Regions from separate parts of the Homo sapiens genome. Here regions 2 and 3 are each linked to region 1. Evidence: promoter capture Hi-C in 16 types of primary human blood cells and fetal thymus (Javierre and others, 2016). All regions are on one chromosome and are shown on one strand. Each heading gives the region's core, a stretch centred on a gene start or on the middle of the fragment in contact. The rest is flanking DNA. Distances are from core to core; before and after follow the strand shown.

The links. The method cuts DNA at HindIII sites, captures the fragments that hold promoters and counts their contacts. A CHiCAGO score of 5 or more calls a contact.
Region 2: a contact is called between a fragment that was not itself captured here and the fragment with the promoter of CTB-3M24.3 in region 1, in 1 of 17 cell types (endothelial precursors). The highest score is 5.1, in endothelial precursors.
Region 3: the fragment with the promoter of FSTL4-AS1 here is called in contact with the fragment with the promoter of CTB-3M24.3 in region 1 in 17 of 17 cell types (neutrophils, activated CD4 T cells, fetal thymus and 14 more); the score reaches 28.1 in neutrophils.

What each region holds. Positions count from the first base shown.
Region 1 is chr5:133,386,197-133,389,313 of GRCh38, forward strand. CTB-3M24.3 (a long non-coding RNA gene) reads left to right here and starts at 1,686. Exons shown (of 3, transcript XR_948794.4): 1 at 1,686-1,774; 2 at 2,277-2,383. All of the region lies in intron 4 of FSTL4 (follistatin like 4), which reads right to left. The HindIII fragment of the contact is 3,410 bases long and covers 98-3,117 here.
Region 2 is chr5:133,548,477-133,551,593 of GRCh38, forward strand. All of the region lies in intron 3 of FSTL4 (follistatin like 4), which reads right to left. Among named protein-coding and RNA genes, the nearest start is that of FSTL4, 63 kb to the right of the region's middle. The HindIII fragment of the contact is 776 bases long and covers 1,315-2,090 here.
Region 3 is chr5:133,254,920-133,258,036 of GRCh38, forward strand. It overlaps FSTL4-AS1 (FSTL4 antisense RNA 1), which reads left to right and starts at 1,526. Exons shown (of 2, transcript XR_007058939.1): 1 at 1,526-1,599. All of the region lies in intron 6 of FSTL4 (follistatin like 4), which reads right to left. The HindIII fragment of the contact is 11,288 bases long and covers 1-3,117 here.

The DNA of each region.
Region 1 (3,117 bases), core at 436-2,935:
GCTCTTTGAGTTAGTTGTTACCCTGCCCTCCATTCTCATCCAATCTCTGGTTTTTTAAAAAGGGTAGGATGTGTAAAATCACAATCATTTGCTGCAAAGCTTGATGATTATAATCACAGCCAGCAGAGTCTCCGTGGGGCTATAGCCACAGGAATCCTGGTGGTGCCTTCACTCAAGTTCTTTCCTTCCCAGCCTTCTAGACAGGCACGCTCAACTGTGCATCTTGTTTTGTGCCAACTGTTTCTCTAAATTAGTATATGGGCTTCTGTCAGCATGTTTTACAGAGAGAAACCACATTTCTCAGCAGTGGACTTTGCCTTCCTTTTGTATAGATTCCCCATTTCTTCAGGTCTTCCTGATACCCACAGTTGTTTACCCTGAGAACCACAAAAGTTTTTAATATGGAAAGTTTGTTCCTTTAAAATTGCTAGGAGAATGTTTATTGAGACAAGCCTGGCACATAAACGAGATCTTCATGTCACTGAAATTTGGCAGGGGGCAGAGGTGGGGACACTGGCGAGAAGGAACCCAGGCAGAAGTGGAGAGACAGAAAGGTGTGACCGAGAAATATGGACGTTTTTCTTCCTGTGCAACGAAGCCCTCACCCTGTGTTTCACGTGGCATTGGCGGGGACTTTCTTCCTTTGTAATGTGCTCACTGGGGTTGTCACGTCACATAGCCACGTGGAGACAGCCACTGAAGTTCAAAGACAAGATGGGTGTAAATGTGATTCATTTCATTAAAACAACTGGATATACAATATTTGATGTCTGCGGTAACTCTAACTTCTCCTCATTTCCCTTTAGGGGAGTGAGAGTTTTTAGGTACCTGCTGTCTGATCAGTTGCAAGTGCCAAGTCTGGTGGAGGAGGAAGGAATGCAGCCATAACATCAGCAAAGCTGCATGAAGTCTTTCCCTCTGCTGCTGCCCCTGCCCTGTACCTGGTTGTTCATGTCCCACCCACCCACTCTTCCAGGTTCAGGTCAAGCCCCACTCCCTGACAAATATCTCTCCTAATCATGGGAGTGGCCACTGACACACACTGAAAGGGGATGGGCAGGTGCCAGTACTGGTGCCGTCATTTACAAGTCCAGTAACTGGGAAAGTTATCTGGCTTCTCTTTGCCTCTCAGTAAACACCAACTAGGAAAAGGAGTGCATGAGATGACGTCCATACAGCCCCTGGCGGTGGGCTGGCAGCCTGGCACATTCTCCGTGAATGAGAATGTGTATTTCCCATGATCCTATCCACCCCACCCTGATGGCCATTCCTTCTTTTCTGCAAGGCTGTGTCCCATGGTGGCCCTTTATTGCCTTGGGGGTTGAACTTCTACCTCTATCTCTTAACAGGGCAGCTCTTCTACCTTCTTTGCCTTTTCTTGGCAACAGAATTTGGCTCTTATGCATTTCTCTCTAATTGGTTAATCACATTGTATTGACTGCAACATTAGAACCAATAGTTCAGGCCTTCCCAATTGTCCTGACCATGTCACTGGCATACTGACACACGCCCATGAACAAAGGCTTCATCACACAAGGAAGACACACTATGACCCGCTGCGGTTTTCTTCCACTTCAGTTGTAGCCCTGCATGCTTTCTGGGGAGCACACTCTAGCCACCGAGATGAAGGCACGGGGAGGCCCGACCGTAGGTCGAACACGTCAGTCAGTGGCTGATCCTTCCCATGGTCTCTGGATACACCAGTGAAGGCAGGAGGTGAAGTCTCCCAGATCACCTGGGAACAGCCATGGACACTTGTCTGGGGCTGCATGAGGTTTGTTCTGGGCTCTGATGGAATATTGCCCTCATGTATGCTTTTTAACATACCGAGTCAAGGATTATGCAGGATCTGTTGAAATTCCAATAAGTCAGTCAAGAAAATTAAGCGCACTTAACCTCATCATTTACCCTTTGCAATTTTTGGTAACTATATTTGAAAAAGTTATTTAGACACCTTCTCATTTCAAGAGCCTCTGTGCTCACCTAAGCCTTGAGTTCCTCTTTGTCAGATTCTCTGATTTCTCTGTAGAATGTGAAGGGTTCATCTTTCACTTTTTTTCCCAGCCAAGAGTACACGGATGGTGTATTATTTGAACCCTTGCCCAGCAGAAAATACTTTTTATTCTTTCCATACATGGATCACCATTTGATAAGTGTAGAATTCTTGCATCATGGTCTTACCACCCCAAAATTCTACCAATGTTCTTCATTGCCTTCTTGCTTCTTAATATCGCAGAAAAGTCCAAGAACAGAATGTTTTTTTTCCTTCCTACCAGACAGTGTCTGAGACTCACCTTTGACACAAATGTAACTGAAGGGGAGAAGCTGCCCCTGGGCAAGCCGGTCAGCTGAAACCACTCAAGAGCCCCCAGTGCAACACCAGGTAGGACTTTTTTTTTTTTTGTCTGCTTTGTTTTTCTCTCTCTGGATATTTCAGATCACTTTAATTTTTTTTTTCAAAACCTAAAATGTCAGCAATTATATTTTGACTTATTTGATAGATCTTTCAGTATAGGGCACTTATTTTTTTGGATCTCTCTTTGCTTATTGTGTCCATTTGAATTGCTCTGAGGTCTTTAAGATAACCAATCACTATTATTTTAAATCTTTTATCTCTGTCTTACATAACTATCATCCTCTCCCACAGTATTTTTTAAATCTTCTTCTCATTCTCGGTGTATTTGGGGAGCGGTTTTCAAGTTTGTTCCCTGTATTGGAACAACTATGATTTCTGTATGGTTAATCTTTCCTTTGACTGCTTGAAGTGGAGAAGGAACTTCTGCAATTGTATTTCAGGTTCTTTATATTCTTTCCTTACCTCCCCCAGCTTCCATTTTATTTTTGACTGTGGCTCAGCCAATTTACAATCCCATTTTTTATCTCATTTCAGAGTTCATGTTTTCTTGCATTGGGAGTAGAACACAGTTGCTGTCTAAAATGAGCTTCTGTTTCTTGTAATAATTTTTCCCCAAAGCATGCTCTTTTGCTGCATCTTAAGTGTGTGCTCTCCTCCTCCTCTGTTGCAGAAGCCAGCTTCCCTTTCATTCGTGTTCAGACAGGTCTGTTCAGGCTTCACCTCTGTTTACTCTCACTGCAGCCCAGTGAGATTGACCAGAC
Region 2 (3,117 bases), core at 453-2,952, 160 kb after region 1:
CCTATACATTACAACTGAGGGAGAAACCAAAAAAAAATCTCCTAACAAAGTCTAAACATGAACAGCAAAAAATGGTAACCTGTAATCATGAGATAAAATCATCAGTTGAGGTAGACCTAGAGATACTAACACTACTGGCATTAGCAGACAGAGGACTTCAAAATTACTATCATCTGTGTGGCAAAGAAAAGAAAGAGTAGCTCAACGGAGAACTGGAACCCATAAGACAGAATCAAAAGGATCTAGAACTGTAAAATATTATATTGAATTTTAAGAATTCACTGGCTAGAATTAACATAAAAAAACTCTGAAGAAAAGGTTAATGAACTCAAAGGTAGATTGAAGCTTGAAGGGGGAAAAAAGAAGGGAAAAAACAGAAAATAAGAGTAAGAGTGTTGTGGAACATGGTTAATAGGTCTAAAATTCTAGATTGACCAATGTTTTCTCTTAGCATATTAAAGATATTCCAATGCTTTCTGATTTCTACTGGGAAATAAACTATAAGTCTCTCATAAGTAATCTGTTTTTTCTCTCTAGCTACTTTGAGGGTTATCATTTTGTCCTTAGTATTCTGCAAGTTTTTGTTGTAGATAGCCTTACGTTTCTTTTTGTTTATCCTATTTGGGATTTACTGGGCTTCCTGTATCTGAGGATAGCTGTCTTCCTTTAGTTTTGCAAACTTTTTTCAACCATTATCCCTTCCAATATTACTCTTCCTGTTTTCTCTCTTTAACCCCAATTACAAATGACTGAGTCCTCCTTATCCTAGTCTCCTTGCCTCCTAACCTTGATAGCTTTGTCTCCTCCTTGCATTCTGGTTACATTTTCAGATGTATCTTCCAGTTCTCTTCAGTTATGCCCTGTTTGCTCTGAAGTCTATCCTTTGATTTTTAAAATTTCAATTACCTTTTTTAATTTCTAGAAATTCTATTTGGTTATTTTTCAAATAATCAAGATAGTTTCTATAGGTTTATTCTTTGTTTATATTTTCAGCTCCCTTTTTATTGCTTATAACACAGCATGCACAGTTTTTTAAATGTTAATTCTATTATCTGGTCTTCATAGTTCCTTTCTGCTGGCTCTTCTTTTGGTGTTTTGCATCCTTTCATTTTTACAAATTTTAACTGGGAGCTCATATTCCTTGGATGGAAAACTGTCAAAATTATTTGAGGCCAATACTGAAGAAGAGTTCTTTTACATAGGATTTGTGTTTGCTCTACCATGTACCTAGGAACACTATCAACCAGGACTGTTTCAAGCAAAATTCTTGGCTGAGGCTTTCTCAGACTAGTCTGTTATATGAATTCTACTGAAAGCTTAGCTTGTGGTTCCTGTTCTCAGAGGAAACATTTTGGCTCCCACTCAGCATCAAGGTTTAAGGCAGGCAATTTTCTTCACACATCCTTGAGAGAAGACAGGGCATGTTTATTTTTATTTCATCCTTACACTAGAGAGGTAGCCTACTGGGGTCTGTTGGGGTCTCAGCTTTTATGTAGAGGAGGTTTTCTAACAGACTGATCTGCCCTAGGCTTGACTCCTGTCCCCATATCTCTTGAGGTCGTAACAATCAGAGTTCAAGGTCACCTGCATTGGGCAAATACTCTCAAAGCAAAAGTCTGCTTTAGAACCCAACTTTCTCTGAGTTTTTGGCCTCTTATGAATCTTTAGTTCCTGCTTTCTCACTGAGGTATTTAAAGGATTGCTTAAATGTTTTATCCATTATTTAAAATTGTTTTAAGTGGGAGAGTCAGCTAAGTTATCTAGCCTCCCATATAGCCAGAAACAATAAGCTGCATAAATAGTTCTAAAATTTTCATGTTATTAGTATCTACTCTTTCTGAAATGGTGGATAAATGTGATTACTCAGTTTTGAGGAAAGAAAATAAATTGGTCCAGTTAAATCCAAGGCTTTCTAACCCAATGCATTTCAGTAAGTATTCACCAAAGACATCCTAGTCCCCCATACTACAGGCCCACTTAGAATTAGAAGTCACAACCCCAGGCAACCCCAGCCCCAACTGTGGGTGAATAATAGCTAACAATGATGGCTAATATAGAGCCTACTCAGAAGGTGGGCCAGTGCTATGCTAAGCTTTTTAATATGCATTTAATCCATACAACTGCCATAGGAGGTAGATAGAACTATCACCACTATTTTAGATGTGAGAAAACCAAAGCACAGAAGTTTAAATAACTTGTTCAAAGTAATATAACCAGTACATTGGATCATACTCAGAATGTCTGGCTGTATAATTTTGAAAAACTACACTGAATAGTTAGAGAACACAGAAGGAGACAACTCTCAACTCAATGAGATCATATGAGTAATAAGAGTAGGATAAAGTCCCAATGTAATGGTGGCTGGAAATGTTATAGAAAGCCAACTTTTAGGTAGAATGGAGTTTGGCTTCTTTTCACTGTATGAGCGATGATTTTCTTGTCCTTTTATATAGTGTGCCATATTATGTGGTCATTGTACACTTACGATGCCTGCCCCAAGCTGGAAAGACTCATCTTGCTCCTCTCCTCCTTTAGGGAGGGAGGTTAGAGTTTCCATGCAGACCCTGTTAATCCAACTTTCTTACTATTACTTAGAACATGTTTCTAATAAACCTCCTGGGATTCATATAAGTTCTTTCATAGCAGTCAAGCAATTGGGAATGAACCATCCTAAAGACAACGGGCGAGCCACTCAAAGCAACCAACAATACCACCAGCTTTGTTTGCCTGGGTCTTGCCTCTGTTTACGATACTTGGGGGAACAGCAAGTGTGGGAGGGAGGATAAATCACAAGATAGCTTTTATAAAATGACTAATAAAGAAATAATGGGAACCCAATAACGACCAATTACAGAGGCAAGAGAAATAATAAAAATAATAAAGCAGAAAATGTACAAAGCAAACAATTAAGACTATTTTATCAAAACAATACTGCGACTCAGAAAGCATTAATTCTCACTGCACAAGGGCAGTAACTGTTTATCATCTGAATTTTGTACATTAAGAAAATGACACCAAGGGAGTTAATAAGTTCCTCCAAGCTCTAGAACACTTCGGAGCCCGGATTAAAAGTTAGCCATGCTCATGCTCCGCTGAGATGTCATCTCTCATTAAAGT
Region 3 (3,117 bases), core at 276-2,775, 130 kb before region 1:
CCAGTTAAGCCCCAGGCCTGGTCTCTGCTCTGGTGGGGAGCCAGGCCACATGAGAGGAAGATGAAGATGCCACATGCAGCCCTCTAGGGGGCAACGAGTGGTCCTTCTGGCTCCTGGCTGTGGCTCCAATGCCCCTGTGTTGACTGACCATCTGTGGGCTCATTAGCCACTATGTGGGAAGGTTTCCAAGGTCCCTGGACGACCAAACGTGATATGCCCAGCACTCAGAGTGTGATCAGGGGTCAGTGAGAGAGGGCTCAGCCAGACGCTGTGTCTGGGGTGAGAATGTGTCTACACACTGAGGCTGGTGTCTTTGGAAAGAGAGGGCTGGGTTGGGGGTCAGAGCAGCCCATCAGGGAGCTTGTCTGGCACTACTGGGCAGAAGTCTGTGCCCACAGAGGGACTGACGCCCTGCTATGAGAACTGACATTGGAGAGCTGCTCTGCAAGTAGGGAATCTGAGGAGGGCAAGGGAGTTGGGGGGTTCTCAAAGCTCAGGGCTTCCCATGATATCCCCCTGGGATGAAAACAAATGGGTCACACTGCAGTGATGGCCCAAGTCAGTGTGGGTTGGTTGGCACAAGACAGAGCTTCCTGGACCACTAGCTAGGCTGCGTGTCCCACAGTGGGATTCTGGGCAGGGCTGTCTGGCACTCTGGTGCCTAGCACAAGGCATGGCACACAGTAGGTGGGCTCAAGGCCATGACCTATCTCTCTAGGCCCTTCAAACCAGTGCAGTAGCATACCCTTGGTTTTCCAGACATGAGATGCCACAAACACCCGTCCTCACCTTTCTCCCTGAGTCTTGGAGCTTGGAGAGAAGAGGCAGTCACAGGGAATTAATGGGCTTACCATAAGCAGGCTAACAAACACCCTTCCTGAAAGCAGGAGGCCATAACATTTCAGTTGTTGGAGAACTGGGTTTTAGTTCCTATTACAGGTTTCCCTTAATCTCAGGCGCTATTTCTCACACTGACTTGAACTCGATAAGACACTCATAAACCCATCAGCACCCTCTCAAACAGGATTCTGGTGCTTTGTAGTGATAGAAATTAAATTTCTCAAATTCTTGTCAAGCTGGTGTTAGTTTTCTTATGTCAGAAACACACTAATGGAACACATTCCTACTTGGATATTTGCCATTTTTCAAATGATGCCATTGGTGAAAAAAACCCTGTCAAAAGCTCAGTAACCTGCCTGCACATCAATATTTTTGACTGAGCCTCGGAGGGCAAACTCAGGCTCAGGGGCCTGCTTGGGAATGAGGGCAATTTGGAGAGAGCACAGGCCAGGCGCTTAGACACATCTCTCTAACTGCGGCCTCTTCCCACATTATTCTCCTTCTAAATTAATGTGCTTTCCTGAAACAAACCCCTCAGGTGACCTAGGTGCCACCAAAGAAGCTGGGGCATTGGAGTGACAAAGTCTATTGATCTGGTCCCATCCCTGTGACCAGAGTCACACTGTGAAGTTGGCGAGTAGGGGAGGAGCCAAGGGGGAGTGCGCATGCCCAGTGTCTCCTGAACAAACAGGGCAACATCTCCCGGACCTTGTGACTTTGGCTGGTGTTTACAGAGTGAAGCTGCTTTGGCGTATCCTGGTGAGCCGGGCAAGGCGGGTGGGAGGGATGGTGTGCTTTTTGTCTCCTCTGTTCCGTCTACCAGAGATTGTCACTCTGGGATCCTTTCAAATAACTGCTGAATGTTTGTGGATGGGAGGCTGGGGACAGGATGTCTTAAAGCCTTTCATCTTGACATTCCTGTTTAGAGCACCAGGGTGCATCCAGCCTGCACAGGTGGCTCTGTATTAGCCAGACTTGCTCCAAAGCCACACAAGAGAGCACTTGCATCTGTCCCAAATCTCCTGTTTCCTTACGTGTAACCAGATTCAATCTTCCTGCCATTGTCATTCCCTCTTGCTTGCTTCATTTTGGGGATGGCAATAAAATTACTAGTTAATTACCTGCGGGTCAGTGGGTAATTTACTTTTTCAACTGGCCTATGTTGCTTGATGTTGCTTCAACTTTTATTACAGTTTAGTTATCAAGTTCTGCTCTCTGGTGTGAACAAACACCTTTGTAAGCTGCATAAAGGCAGAGACTATATCTGTTTTATTTATGTTGTATCCCCAGCACCTAATACAATGCCTACCACGCAGAAGGGACTTAATAAGCAGTTTTAAGCAAGTGAACTATTAGGCTAGTGCTCAGTCAACAATTATTTATGGAGCTGGTACCAGGAGCCAGGATACAGTGGGAATATACTGGCAAGAAAAACAGGCCCAGTGCTTGCTAACCTGGAGCTCATGGCTTAGCAGAGAAGACAAGTGTTAAGTGGGGAGGGAGAGCAGAGGCCTGAACCTGTCTACAGACCCCAGGTTAAGGGCCCGTGACTCCTGTAAAGCCTGGTTGCCCTCTTTCTTGGTAGAGCCCTCCCTGTGTGCCTGGCAGACCTGTGTCCTGCTATCGAGACATCCTAGTCTGATGTAGTATCCTCCTTGTTTGCAGGAGGGGCCGGCCTGTGCAGGGGCAGGGTTACCTGGGCATCCCTCTAGGCTCTGGGGTTCCATTTAGCCTCCTCTGGCCAATACACCTTTTTAGTTTTGAGAAAACTAAACCTCAATGTGACTGCTGTGTGCAGACGAACAGGAAGTTAGAGCAGAACTCAGTGCCCAGGGGCTGTGAGATCACCATTCTGGGTATCATGGGGTGCCACAGTGTGGCAGGCAGGAGAGGCATCCATCAGAAGGAGCAAAGGGTCCTTGCTGAGGTGGAGAGCACAGGGCCTCCTGGTCAGCAGGAGCATGGCTGTCACAGTGCTGCATACCAGCTCTTCCACCTCCGCTGGTTCCTGTGTGTGGGGTAGCCTTGGTCAGCTTGGCCACTCTATGGGTCTCTCCCACCCTACTGAGTCTACACCCAAAGATGATGGGCATACCTCTGCTCAAGATATTTGCAAAAGGAGAGTATCCTAACTGCCTATTACTTTGGTGTCTTAAGGGGGAAAAGAATGTATTACCTTATGTAATTATACAGAGCTACTCAGAATTTACAAAAATTCATACAGATCTCTAAGGTTGGATCCAGAATCTCCTGAGCAAGTCAGTGGAGAAGAGCAAA